Linked DNA regions of Homo sapiens: region 1 is linked to region 2. The links are contacts of gene promoters, found by promoter capture Hi-C in blood cells and fetal thymus (Javierre and others, 2016). All regions are on one chromosome and are shown on one strand. Each heading gives the region's core, a stretch centred on a gene start or on the middle of the fragment in contact. The rest is flanking DNA. Distances are from core to core; before and after follow the strand shown. Region 1 overlaps THAP5 (THAP domain containing 5). Region 2 holds the start of COG5 (component of oligomeric golgi complex 5).

Region 1 (7,038 bases), core at 390-2,889, 1.0 Mb before region 2:
TGGTGTCTTGGACTCTGTTCTTGGAAAAGTACCAAATGGAATATAAACCATTTTCAAATATTGTTTTGTATACCTTGACCCAAACCTTTTTAGATTGATAGGAAAAATTTTCTATCAAATTCTGCCATACACTGTAATGTTAGCACCAACTTTAAATCCAGGTTATTGTCAGGTACAGGAACAAAATGTATACAGCGCTGTCTTGCCATTTGTATTTGATTTGTTTCATATAAAATATCTGAGACTGTCCCTTTTAACATGTTCCATTCTTTTCTTCTATCAGTTTCTCCTTCAGAACTTGAAATTTGGAGTTCCCAGTTCATTGGTTATAGAAGTGTAGTACTATTAGACTAGATTACTTATAGATAGAATTAAAGATGATGCTAGTAAAGAGAATATTTTCAGTACTTTTTCAGCTAAATCATTTGTTTGAAATAACATCTTATTTTTTAAATATTAAATAAGATTGTAAAGCTTAATACTGCCTTGAATTATAGACAACAAGCCATTTGACATGTGGTGGTATTATGAAATACATTTGAATAGGAATTTATAATTTATACAAACCTTTTTTCTAGTTCTAGGCAAACTGTACAGCAATATAAAAATGGAACATAATCCATAGAAAATACAAATAGATTTTGTCCTTTATAGGAACACATATATTTTACTTGAAGGGACTCTGAATTATGTTCAGCTCTTATCAGATAAGAGCCTTGGCTACATGTCTTACATCTTAGGCCTCTTACTGCAGAGATGATAATGGTACTAGTTGTCATGAAGATGCTCTTATTTGGTAGGGATGGTTGCCTTCCTCTTGTAGTACTTACTTGATGCATAGGTTACCCAGATATATAGGGTGGGAATTTGGCAAAATTGTAAAAATATAGCAAAGTTTTTCCTTTTTTCTTCTTTTTTTTTTAAATTCCAGATTTCCTCTACATGACAAAGAAAGACTGGAAAAGTGGTTAAAGAATATGAAGCGAGATTCATGGGTTCCCAGTAAATACCAGTTTCTATGTAGTGACCATTTTACTCCTGACTCTCTTGACATCAGATGGGGTATTCGATATTTAAAACAAACTGCAGTTCCAACAATATTTTCTTTGCCTGAAGACAATCAGGTATTGCAGTATGGGAGAGGGGTAATGCTGAGCAGAGTGGCAGATTTCAGGGTGGCAGGTGATCAGGTGGGAGAGTAAGAGGGAACTATAACTTGGGTAAACAGATACTTGGAAAAAAGGGAGCACTAATTTGTGCTTTTACTAAAAGTGATAATTAAAAAAAATTAAACTCATGAAGCACAGCTTAAGAGAAGCAAGAGATATACATTATTAAGTTATTAACACAAGTTCATGAGTTTTATTTTTTATACTTTTTTTGTTTGAGACAAGGTCTCATTCTGTCACCCTGGCTAGAGTGCAGTGGTGCGATCTCAGCTCACTGCAACCTCTGCCTCCTGGGTTCAAGCCATTCTCTTGCCTCAGCCTCCTGAGTAGCTGGGATTACAGGCGCCTGCCACCACGCCCGGCTAATTTTTGTATTTTTAGTAGGGATGGGGGTTTCACCATGTTAGCCAGGCTGGTCTTGAACTCCTGACCTCAGTTGATCTGCCTGCCTTGGCCTCCCAATATACTAGTCTTTTGAATGATCTGAAATGTTTCTGCCGTATATTGAATGGGATTAATGCTTTTTAGAAAATACTTTAAGGTATATATACTCTGAGCTTTTTTTTAACTAAATAAATTTGCTTGGCCAGTGTACTACTCAATATTATAATTAAATAGCACTAGCATAATAAGCCAATAAAAGTCATCTTTTTCAGAACATGAAAATATTATTTTCTAGGGAAAAGACCCTTCTAAAAAAAAATCCCAGAAGAAAAACTTGGAAGATGAGAAAGAAGTATGCCCAAAAGCCAAGTCAGAAGAATCATTTGTATTAAATGAGACAAAGAAAAATATAGTTAACACAGATGTGCCCCATCAACATCCAGAATTACTTCATTCATCTTCCTTGGTAAAGCCACCAGCTCCCAAAACAGGAAGTATACAAAATAACATGTTAACTCTTAATCTAGTTAAACAACATACTGGGAAACCAGAATCTACCTTGGAAACATCAGTTAACCAAGATACAGGTAGAGGTGGTTTTCACACATGTTTTGAGAATCTAAATTCTACAACTATTACTTTGACAACTTCAAATTCAGAAAGTATTCATCAATCTTTGGAAACTCAAGAAGTTCTTGAAGTAACTACCAGTCATCTTGCTAATCCAAACTTTACAAGTAATTCCATGGAAATAAAGTCAGCACAGGAAAATCCATTCTTATTCAGCACAATTAATCAAACAGTTGAAGAATTAAACACAAATAAAGAATCTGTTATTGCCATTTTTGTACCTGCTGAAAATTCTAAACCCTCAGTTAATTCTTTTATATCTGCACAAAAAGAAACCACGGAAATGGAAGACACAGACATTGAAGACTCCTTGTATAAGGATGTAGACTATGGGACAGAAGTTTTACAAATCGAACATTCTTACTGCAGACAAGATATAAATAAGGAACATCTTTGGCAGAAAGTCTCTAAGCTACATTCAAAGATAACTCTTCTAGAGTTAAAAGAGCAACAAACTCTAGGTAGATTGAAGTCTTTGGAAGCTCTTATAAGGCAGCTAAAGCAGGAAAACTGGCTATCTGAAGAAAACGTCAAGATTATAGAAAACCATTTTACAACATATGAAGTCACTATGATATAGAATAACTAGGTTTTAAAACTATGGCTGTTAAATAAGCTTTTTCCAGCCAAACCAAACTACATGTAAAGTGAACTGTTTCCTGTATAAAGTTCTCATCTTAATGAACCTATGAGAGTGTTGTAAAGTTATGAACTGTATCCTATTCTTGTAATACTTATTTAAGAAAAACCAGAGAGTTGGGCTGGAGAGAAAAGCAGTTTTATTACTTGATAATTTTCCAAATTAAAATTTAGCACATAGAAGGATTCAGTTATAACATGAGAAAACAAAGAAGTGTTCAAAGAGCACAGACTAGAAGTCAGGTTCAGGAATCAGTCCTGGTTCTACCACTGGCATATGACTTGGGCAAGTTACTTATGATTGTGCCTCAGTCCCTAATTTGTAAAATAAGCACTTACTGGATTTGTAATTGGTTATTTATAGTCCCTTCCCTTTTTATTAAGATAATTCTATTAGAACACATTTTCTGTAAGATAATATATACGTAATACTAGAAGTTGGCTAGAATTTGATGATATTAACCATGTATTATTTTCAGTATTTATTGAATTCTGTGGTCTTTGACCTTTTGGCTATAGTTACATATTACAGTTATATTATCTGTAATAGAAAGGAAGATAAACTTTTTTTTTTTTTTTTTTTTTTTTTTTTTTGAGATGGAGTCTCACTCTGTAACCCAGGCTGGAGTGCAGTGGCCTGATCTTGGCTCACTGCAGCCTCTGCCTCCCGGGTTCAAGTGATTCTTCTGCCTCAGCTTCCCGAGTAGCTGGGATTATAGGCACACACCACCACATCCAGCTTATTTTTGTATTTTTAGTAGAAACGGGGTTTCACCATGTTGGCCGGGCTGGCCTCGAACTCCTGACCCCAGGTGATCCACCTACCTTGGCCTCCCAAAGTGCTGGGATTACAGGCGTGAGCCACCGCGCCTGGCCAAGATAGAACTTTTATAATTTTATTCCAGTTGAACTAAACTAAGGAACCACCCATTAGCCCAGTTCTTAGGAGAGGTACTTCAAACTTGAAAGAATATGTATTTCGGTAACTTATATGTGGCTAACCATCAAATACATAGTCATCTAAGCTAAACTTTCTGTATTTATACAGTTAAACTTATAAACCAAAAATTTTAATGAGGTTAATTTTAAATATATTTTAGAAATTACAGTTTGTATCTGTTTCTTAGTAGGTGTGGCCTTTAAAATATGTGCTTATTCATTGTTAAATTCCAGAATAATAGAGTAATACTTAATACTGTACATTCCCACTTACGTATATTTTATTAAAATTTATAAGCAAGAAATTATACATAAGTGGTCATGATCTTAGGGAGACAAAGAATTTCTCTTAGAAAAGAGAAGTAATGGTAATGTAAATAAAAATACTGTTTATATTCACATGATTTTAAGAAAACTGTAAAAGCAAAGATTTTGTAGTAATGACACAAATGTAACAAATAGATGTTTTCTTAAAATTGGCAGTCAGTATAATTATGTTTCTGCCTATGATGTTGAGGAAGTTGTATCAGTCTGATTCTTAGTTTTTTCATCTGTTAAGTAGAACGTACTATTACTTACCTTAAAGAGTGGCTTTGAGAATTTTGTAAGGAACAAACATGTTTTTGGTTCTGGAATATAGGAGGTGCTCAATAAAAGTTGACTCTGACTGGCAAATAATATTGTTTTGTAAATGCATGATGATTATTTTTGGCCATATTTGACTTAGTTTCATTAGGCTAATATTAATTGGTACTATATGAAAGTGAGTCAACTAATTATAAAAGATTAGAAATGTCTTAGGTGACGATGGGGGAAAAACTTAAAATTTTTGCATAAATTATGGGGAGATGATAGAGTTATTACAGTGTTATTAAGTATTCCTATGTTGCATTTTGCAAATACTTAATTTAATACAGATGAAAATAATCTTGAGTCACAATAAAGTAATGATATGTTAAGTTTCAACAGTGTACATTGTAGTAATTTTCTGAAAGTTACAGGTTCCTCAGAAAAAATTTAAACTAGCTTTATTTCTTTAATAAATTATAAGTAAAAGTTGACTATCTGAAAATCCAAAATGCTCCAAAATCTGAAACTTTTTGAGCACAAACATGACACGCAAAGGAAATGCTCACTAGGGCATTTCAGTCTTCAGATTTTTGAATTGGGGATGCTCAGCTGTTAAGTGTACTGCAGATATTTCAAAATCTGAAAAACAGTACCCTTTCTGTATTCACGTCCATCCTTACTCTGACTTTCTGGACCATAATAATCATTCTCCGGTAAAACTTTGAACAACATTGCTCTGTTGCCTATTGTTCTCACTTGCCTAAATTACATTCCTGGTTGAATTCAAATATCTCTTTGCCTTTTCTCTTCCTACATCAGAAGAGCCGGTAGAATAGAAAAAAATCACGATTGGACAGACTTGATTATAAATTCATGACCACAAATCAGATGAGCCCAGCAGTGTTACTGTATTTTTCTAGTAAGTTCATAACCCCACACTCAAATTCTGTCTCTCACTCCTCCCTTCCTTTCCTGCCTCTCCTTCCCGCTTGCCCAAGATGAGGATCTCATCACATGCTTCATTTAGAAAATCAAAACAATCATTAGCTCATCCTGCCAGTTGCAGTGGCTCATGCCTGTTACCCCAGCACTTTGGGAGGACCAGGTAGACAGATTGCTTGAACTTTGGAGTTAAAGACTAGCCTAGCCAACATGGTGAAACCCTGTCTCTAGAAAAAAAAAAAAAAAAAAATCAGCCAGGCATGGTGGTGCGTGCCTGTATTCCCAGCTACTCAGGAGTCTGAGGTGGGAGGATTGCTTGAGCTCAGGAGGTAGAGCCTACAATGGGCTGAGATCGTGCCACTGCATTCCAGCCTGGGCATCAAAGTGAGACCGTGTCTTTAAAAAAAAAAAATGGTATGTTGTTTCCAAATTTAGAATGTGTTTCATTCTCATCACTACCATGGCACATGCCTAAGGTTTCAGTCAGTGACCAAAGCAACATTTTAATGCAAGAGAGGATTTGAGTTAGGGTTCTTTTGGTTGCAAGGAACAGAAACTCAATCCAGCTCAAGAAAGGAAACAGGGAAGAACAGAACTGAAAGGCTCAAACCAGGGTCTCGGGAATCCAAACACAGAAGTTGCGGTACAGGCAGGCACAGTGGCTCACACCTGTAATCTCAACGCTCTGGGGGCCCAAAGCAGGAGGATCACCTGAGGCCAAGAGTTTGAGACCAGCCTGGGCAACATAGATCCCATCTCTACAAAAAATTTAAAAATTAGCTCGGCATGGTAGTCGGTGCTTTTAGTCCTAGCTACTCAGGAGGCTGAAGTGGGAGGATCTCTTGAGCCTAGGTCAAGGCTGCAGTGAGCCATGACTGCGCCACTGCACGCCAGCCTGGGCAACAGAGTGAGACCCTGTCACAAAAGAAAAAAAGTTGCAGTACAGTTGTGCCCCATAGTAATTGGTTCTGGAAGACATCTGGAAAAGAGGCTCCCTCATGTCAACTGCCTCCTGAATGGCATCTGTTTCAAACTCTCTCTCCCAGCCAAACCTTATATCTCAGTTTACAAATAGGCCCCTAAGTTTCTCTACATTATGAATCTTCAGCTTCCTCTGTTAATTAGCTCAGTCATTCGGTTTTTAAATTCCAGATTTCCAAAAGAGGGATCCAACTGGACCTTGCATATATTTTTAAGCCAGTGGGTCTGTAGTAAACCTGTGAGTTGGCATCCTTTGGGTCCTGTCTTATAGGCTGCAGTTGCATCCAGTGAATATGATGGGGAAGGGTCACATGGTATAGAACAGACTCATCTACCTCAGTAAAGCCTTGAAAAGGAGCAGTTTCCCTTTGAAAAAGAGGCTGTGGGTGAGCAAGCAGGTAACTGCTTTAGTTCTGTGCTGCTGTAAAATATGAACTATATGAGAATGACATCATTTGTACATCATTCTCTCCTTTGCAAACAAGGTCCTTCATGCCTTGCCTTGAGCTTGTAACTAAAGAAGTGGCCTACTAAGCCATCAGAGAAAGTAAGAACCAGGCAGTACTGTACAAGACAACATGTAATCTTATAAGAGAGTAGGTTTAAAGCTAATATGAACTAATAAATAGTTTTAACATAATAAATTTAGAGCTATTCACATCCCCAAACAATTCTGAAATAACCTGAAGATATTAAGATCAAACTATAAATATTTAAAGTTTTAATAAAAGAAGCTCTAAAATAGTGATATGGTTTGGCTTTGTGTCCCCACCTAAATTTCATC
Region 2 (7,005 bases), core at 460-2,959:
TCCCTTGAGCCCAGGAGGTTGAGGCTGCAGTGAGCCACGATCCTGCCACTGCACTCCAGCCTGGGTAACAGAGCTAGACCCCAACTCAACAAAACAAAACAATCAGTAGCTTTCTACCTTAGTTGTACACTACAATGACCCGAGGAGCTTTTAAGAATTAGCATGCCCAAGCCATACCCTAGACCAATTAAATCCAAACGTCTGGGCTCAGGATGCAGGCATCAGTGTTTTTATTAAAGCTCTTCAGGTGATTTCAATGTGCAGCTAAGCTTGGAATTACTGGAATAAGTAAATCCAAAGATTCCAAAGCACCTGGTACAATTGTTTGTTTAAATGGGTTCCTACCTTACCTATTAACTCCTTTTAGAATATGGATTGAGTCTTATGTTTGTAAACTCATGAGAGCATGCAGAGTAGAGGGGTCAAAACTTTCGCTGTATGAATGAATATTACTCACTCTTCTAAAATCTTCCACTGGGGGGAATAAAGCCAAGGAAGGAAAAACAATTCCTAATTCACAAGTAATGAATGAATCACCCCTATTCCCATCATGACTAAGATCTTACATACTAGGGAAAATCCTCTGAGACAAAGAGAGCATAATGCAGTGTAGCATAAGACTTGCTTACCTGAGGTGTTATGAGTATGAAATGCATTGAGTTATAAAATACTTAGAACAGCGATAAGCACAGGATAAGTAATAGCACCTTTTTGAAACAGAATGTAGAAAACCACGTAGCTCTGGAACTGGATAAAATTGGTTTCCTGGATACATACCTACTGTACAAAATGAAAAAGTCATCTTCCAGCTTCTTTTTGCGAAGAAGCTTAAGACTGTCTTGCATACTTGTGGTTGCCTGACCCTGTTAATTTATCAGTATTTATCTTAGAAGAAAGAAATCTAGGTCAAAAACGCGAACGTATTAGTAAAGAAGATACAATGGGAACCAACCTGATGCTCTTACAGCGTCAATACTGTTAGTTGAGATGTGGACCATCTATCAGTTTGTAATTAAGAAAAAGTCTGGCACGTGACTGAAACTGAGGAAGAAGTAGAAAAGGCAAAAGGTCAAAGGTCTCATGGGAAGGAAGGAGGGTAGAGACAGTGAGTTTTATTGGTCCTTTTATGGTTCAGACTTCCTTCTTCATCGACTCTCCCTAATTCTCTTCACTGTTCATCCCCAGCAACTTTTCTTCCCAAGCATTTCCTGCGGGCTTTTATTACCCCAGGAGTGCCAATCAAGGCGTGGAACAGATAAAGCTGTGTAGCAACTAACGCGTGACTCTTGTGAGTGTGGAGGGCAAACGAAGCTCCCTGAAACCTCCGCTCTGCTCTCCTGCCTTACGCCGCGCGGCCCCTGTTCTGAGGTTTAATACTTGCTTCACAGATAAGCGCTGCGGCCACGTTCCGGTGCCCACCTTCTCCTTGGCTAGGGCACGACGCCAGCCCAGGGGGCGCGGCCCTGAGCTGCTGCGAGAGACAGCTGAAAGCGCCGGCCCGACGGCCTTGGCTCCCTCGGTGCGCTGGGCGCAGAGCACTCGGACCCTGGGCGCCCACTGCTCGAGTACCTGCGCGGCTCCTAGCCAGGCTTAGCCCAGGCGCGGGCTGAGAGTCAGTTCGCCAGGTGGGCCTGGAGCCATGGGCTGGGTGGGCGGGCGGCGCCGGGATTCTGCGTCACCACCTGGGCGGAGCCGTTCTGCTGCTGACGACATCAACCCGGCACCTGCCAACATGGAAGGTGGCGGCGGCAGCGTCGCTGTAGCTGGCCTCGGAGCTCGAGGCTCTGGAGCGGCTGCAGCTACAGTCCGGGAACTTCTGCAGGACGGTAAGGAGACGGGGTCTGACCAGGTCGTGGGGTTGGGGGTCTGCGCTGCTCCGCACCTGGACAGCGAGGTGGACCCAACCCGTTGCTTTGCAGAAAGTTTTCCAGTCTGGACGTGACCACTCCCCTCCGCCCGGCCCCCTGGCTTGGGTACTGTTCTAGCCAACCTATTTACTCTGGGACTGGCTCCCTCTTTTCTGGAGTCTTGGGGACACTTGGTTTCTGTGTGTTCCTCATTTCAACTCGACCCCCCCCCCCCCCATGCCTCCAGCTTCCCTGAAGTTTCGGGAGCCCAAACCCTGTGGACCGCGTTGGCAGCCACCGGCTGCTGCCGCAGTTCTTGACGAAGGGGTGTAGCGTTCGAGCTCTTCAAAAGTGTAAGCTCTAGAACAGACGGCAGACGCATAATGAAATAGGGCCTTGTTTTAAAGTAGAGCTGGAAACGCTTACTCCTTTAACAAATGGACTGTACAGGTGACCCCTCTTACAGGCTGGTTTTTTTTTTCCTCCTTTATGAGGCAGTTATCTACAGTGACACGTGGGGGAGGGTTTGAGACATTTGTTCAGGTTGGGATTAACCATTTGTACAGAATCTAGCAGTCAGATTTTATTGCTAGTCAGTTTGGAGAGAAGTTGCCCAAAATAAGAAAAGTTAGATATAATATACTTGAAAAGCATATTCAGTTGTGTCAATCCAGTTACCATGTCCCGAATCTCTTATCCTTCAGAATAAAGTTCACATTTATAAGCATAAAAATAAAGCCCTTCTCACCTGTTCTTAATTTTTTCTCTAGTGGCCATCGCATTCTACCTTGTACTAAAATCATTTGTATACTTGTTTTAATCTCTTCTGTATTGCAAACTTTTTTTAATATCCCACAGTGTGAATAGCAGTATCTTGCATACAGTAGGTGCAGAATGTTTTTTAAATTCATCATCGCAGTTAGAAGCACATGCACACATTTGAAGACCGAAGTGGGTAATAAATGAAATAAAGTTCCAAATTATTGTTTATTTTCTCTGACTGTTAAATATTTTATTGTCATCCTGAATTACGTGCCTTTTCATGATAATTTATGTACTTTTGTCAAAAGCAATGATGTTTTCTGAACTATTTCATGTTGGAAACTCTAGGACCGGGTCTCTGTCTAAAACTTGGCTAAACTGAATTTAAACTTTAGATACAAGGCAGAGACCCTGATATATTTGCAGTTGCTCCTGATACACGTGCAATTTTTGCCCTCAAGTAGTTCACCATCTAGTAGAGGAAATAATCTTGTAGACTATAAAGGTAGGTGCTGTAATATAGTGATGTAAGATAGCAGTAGGATTGCATATAAAGTAGAGCATTAATACAGAGGAGAATGATAACTGGGGGTTGGAAACTGGTTAGGAAATGTCAGAAAAGGCTTTCTAGGTGGAGACGTTTTAAACTGTAGACAGGACTTCCCCAGGTGAACAGTGGAACATTGGATATATGTTTCAGTAGGATGTATTTCAGGAATTGTAATCAGTTCTTGGACGGTAAATACTCTTCAGTTCTGCCTTCTGTATTTTCCTCCTTGGTTCTCTGCCATTCTCCACAGTGATTGTTTAAATCTTCTTTACCCTTTTCAAACCTTTCGCTTCAAGCTCAACAAATGACTTTAAGCTTCCCTGGGGAGAAAAAGAGGATCCATCAGATGTGAACTTTCTCCATTTCTTGCCCATCAAACCTATGAATTTAACCTCAACGTATAACCATCTGTTGCACCTTTTTTCCCTTGCCTTTTCAATTGCAACGGAAGTGGAGCCTCTGCTCCTTTCTTTCTTTCTTTCTTTTTTTTTTTTGAGACGGAGTCTCGCGCTGTTGCCCAGGCTGGAGTGCAGTGGCGCAGTCTCGGCTCACTGCAAGCTCTGCCTCCGGGGTTCACGCCATTCTCCTGGCTCAGCCTCCTGAGAAGCTGGGACTACAAGCGCCCATCACTATGCCTAGCTAATTTTTTGTATTTTTAGTAGAGACGGGGTTTCACCGTGTTAGCCAGGATGGTCTCGATCTCCTGACCTCGTGATCTGCCTGCCTTGGCCTCCCAGAGTGCTGGGATTACAGGCGTGAGCCACCACGCCCGGCCGAGTCTCTGCTCCGTTCTAAGGATAGTGCCTCCTACTTTGCTCTGGATTTTTTCTTCCTGTTTCCTGGGGACTCAGTCACCCTCAATCTATGCCATTGAAGTAACTTTGCAAGGTTTTCAATGACTTTCTTGCACATACGACAAATGGACACTTTTTTGGTCCTTTAACTTGTAATAACATTTGATTCCTTTCTTGAAATACTTTCCTCATGCGGTTTATGGGTGCCGTGCTTTTTAAAAATTCTTAATTCTCTAGGTGCTCTTTTCCAGGTTCCTGTAGATACTTGTCAGTTCAGTTTGTTCTGAATTAAGCGGTCTCTGTTGCCCCTCCACCCCCAACATTCCTGAGGAATTAAGCATTTCCAGCAGAAACTTTGATTCACTATATCGGGGATTTGGCCAATGACAGAGTATCGGATTGATAGGCTTGGTGAGCACAGATGCATAGTATGAAAATTGGTGAGGTGTTTCTGATATGCCCTCTATGGGAATGAGGAAACTATAAAAGAGAAGCATTATATAATTCATCTCTTTAAAGGCTGTCAGCCCTCAAATGCCACATCCCGTTGTGTTTGATCTTTGTAAGCTCTATGACAATACTAATACTTACTTTCTTTATCCCTTCTTTTGGCTTTTGCCATTCTTTTTTGTTTCTCTTTCTCCCTGAGCACTCTTTAGTCTCTTTGATTGCTTTCATTTTCTCTGTCCACCCCCCACTTTCCTATCTTCCTCATTTTCCTGCCTTTTTGTGCATTCTAAAACTTTTTTTTCCTAAATCATCTGGTCTTGTCTGTGGTTTCAGTATGCTCCTTACCTGTCTTCTGAATTATAAAACTATATTTTTAACTGCCTACTGGACATTTCTATCTTAATTTTTTTATGATATGCCATTCCATAACCTGTATGGACATTTCTATTTTGATAGTAAACAAGCAGTGCTAGTTCTATAATACACATGAAAACCTACATATGAACAAATAGTACAAGGTTTACATATGAAAAAATGAAATGAATTCACTTTTTCTGTTCTTCTCTCCTAATCTTTTCCTCTGGTAGTTTCTGTTATCTGTGTTTACTATGTTGTTAGGTAAATGTGTGCTTGTTCCCCTTGTAAATTATGAATTCCTTGGAGGCAGAAGTTTATGTTCATCTTGGTATATTCAGTGTCTAGTGGTCTAAGTTAGTGTAAAACTAAATTTCCTGTATCAGTTGCTTAATCCAGAAATTTGGGAATCCTTGTTTGTTCTACCTAATCACCCATTTTCAGCTTGTCACTAAGTCCTACATCCTGTGCAGTGTGAATATTTGTCAAATTTGTCACTTTGACATTCTTAGTGCCACTTATTCAGGTCTTAGTCGGGCCTTCATTATGTCTTAGGCTGTTAACATAGTACTTTACTGGCCTCTGTGGTTCTATTTCTTGGGTGTATTGGTTAATTGGCTTTGTGGGAAAATAGAAAAAGCCCTGATTTTTGTAGTGTTTGCTGATTACCATGGTGTAAATACTCTCACCATCGTAGATTTTAAGATATCTGTGTGAAAGGTCAACTGGCTCACAGAATTCCTGAAAATGTAACAGTCTGTGCTCAAGAGCCAATAAGAGGCAACTTCAGCACATTGCTGTGTGACTAATCCTTTTTCCATCATCCTCTATACAGCTGCCAGGATTATTGTTCTGTAACATAAAGCTGATAGTGCAATTTCTTGGGTTAAATGAGATATGGTTAAACATTTCAAATGTCTTACAAACCTCTTTTCAAACTGCGCTCCAACCTTTGGAACCACATCTGTCATTCTTTACCATTTCTGTCCAATATACATGTGCTATGATTTAGACACACTGAAATCAGTATTCCCCTTGTTTCTCAAAATATGCCATGGCATTTGCCACTGCTAAACCTTCCCTTTGCTTGGAATGGCTTTTTTCATTTGTCTGGCTGACAGGACTCTTAATTCTGAGAAGCACTTGGCAAATCAGAAGGAAATGTGGTTCTCAGACTTAAAAGCAGCCAAAGTAGCAGTTTCCTTCTTTCATTCCACTACATTTTAAGAATAATCAAGAGTATGAGCCTTTACTTTTTGTTGTTGGTTGTTACCAGAATGATACTAATGATACATCAGCTGATGTATAGATTAGTTAATTCATGGAACCTGCCATGTGTCTGGTATTGTTCAGACACTGGAGAAGAGTTAGCAAACAAAACAAAGACCTTCTTCCCCTCTTGGAGCATACATTATAGCAGATGTAGACAATTTAGGTTTTCTTAAAAGTACTCTATTTTGTTTGTTTCATAATCTCTCTCAAGGCAGCTTTACTTGTATCTACTGTATCATTAGGAGATTTGGTACATGGTTACCATGAGCTCCCTTCTGGGTATCTATTTTTAGCTTTCAATTCTCTTAATTTTTCTTTCATCCACATATTTGTGGATTTCTATATTGAGGGGTATCTTTTTAACATCTGGTATTACTTCTGTTTTCTGTCTATTAGGGGCCTATTTTAAACAGCTTTTCTTTCCATTAACATATTTCACCCATAAATCCTAAATTTCAGTAACACCTATAAATTTATATTTCCTATTGTTACTAAAATTCCAGATTCACTTTGCTATAACAGTATTTGTGTATTGATCTAGAGATATCTGAGGCCATAAATATTACATATGTGTATATATATATATAGAGTCAATTTTCCTGTTGTCTTTTCACTGACAATGATCTTGTTTTCTTGGATTAATAGTTATAGCTAGTAGTTATGGTTTTTTTTTTTTTTTTTTTTTGAGATGAAGTCTTTTTTTTTTTTTTTTGGGACAGAGTCTTGCTCTGTCGCCCAGGCTGGAGTGCAATGGCGCAATCTCAGCTCACTGCAAGCTCCGCCTCCCGGGTTCACGCCATTCTCCTGCCTCAGCCTCTCGAGTAGCTGGGACTACAGGCGCCCACCACCACGCCCGGCTAATTTTTTTTATATTTTTAGTAGAGACGGGGTTTCACTGTGCTAGCCAGGATGGTCTTGATCTCCTGACCTCGTGATCCACCTGCCTCGGCCTCCCAAAGTGCTGGGATTACAGGTG

The links. Contacts are between HindIII fragments. The CHiCAGO score rates a contact against its expected background, and 5 or more counts as called.
Region 1: a contact is called between a fragment that was not itself captured here and the fragment with the promoter of COG5 in region 2, in 1 of 17 cell types (fetal thymus). The highest score is 6.6, in fetal thymus.

The regions. Positions count from the first base shown.
Region 1 is chr7:108,559,916-108,566,953 of GRCh38, reverse strand. It overlaps THAP5 (THAP domain containing 5), which reads left to right. Exons shown (of 3, transcript NM_001130475.3): 2 at 932-1,124; 3 at 1,849-4,822. The coding sequence ends at 2,763. Among named protein-coding and RNA genes, the nearest start is that of THAP5, 6.3 kb to the left of the region's middle. The HindIII fragment of the contact is 2,325 bases long and covers 477-2,801 here.
Region 2 is chr7:107,558,624-107,565,628 of GRCh38, reverse strand. COG5 (component of oligomeric golgi complex 5) reads left to right here and starts at 1,709. Exons shown (of 22, transcript NM_006348.5): 1 at 1,709-1,826. The coding sequence starts at 1,733. It overlaps DUS4L-BCAP29 (DUS4L-BCAP29 readthrough), which reads right to left and starts at 1,658. Exons shown (of 13, transcript NR_163941.2): 1 at 1,420-1,658; 2 at 953-1,041. It overlaps DUS4L (dihydrouridine synthase 4 like), which reads right to left and starts at 1,658. Exons shown (of 8, transcript NM_181581.3): 1 at 1,420-1,658; 2 at 953-1,041. RefSeq lists enhancers at 1-1,131, 1,662-1,781 and silencers at 1,482-1,581, 1,620-1,830. The HindIII fragment of the contact is 2,647 bases long and covers 830-3,476 here.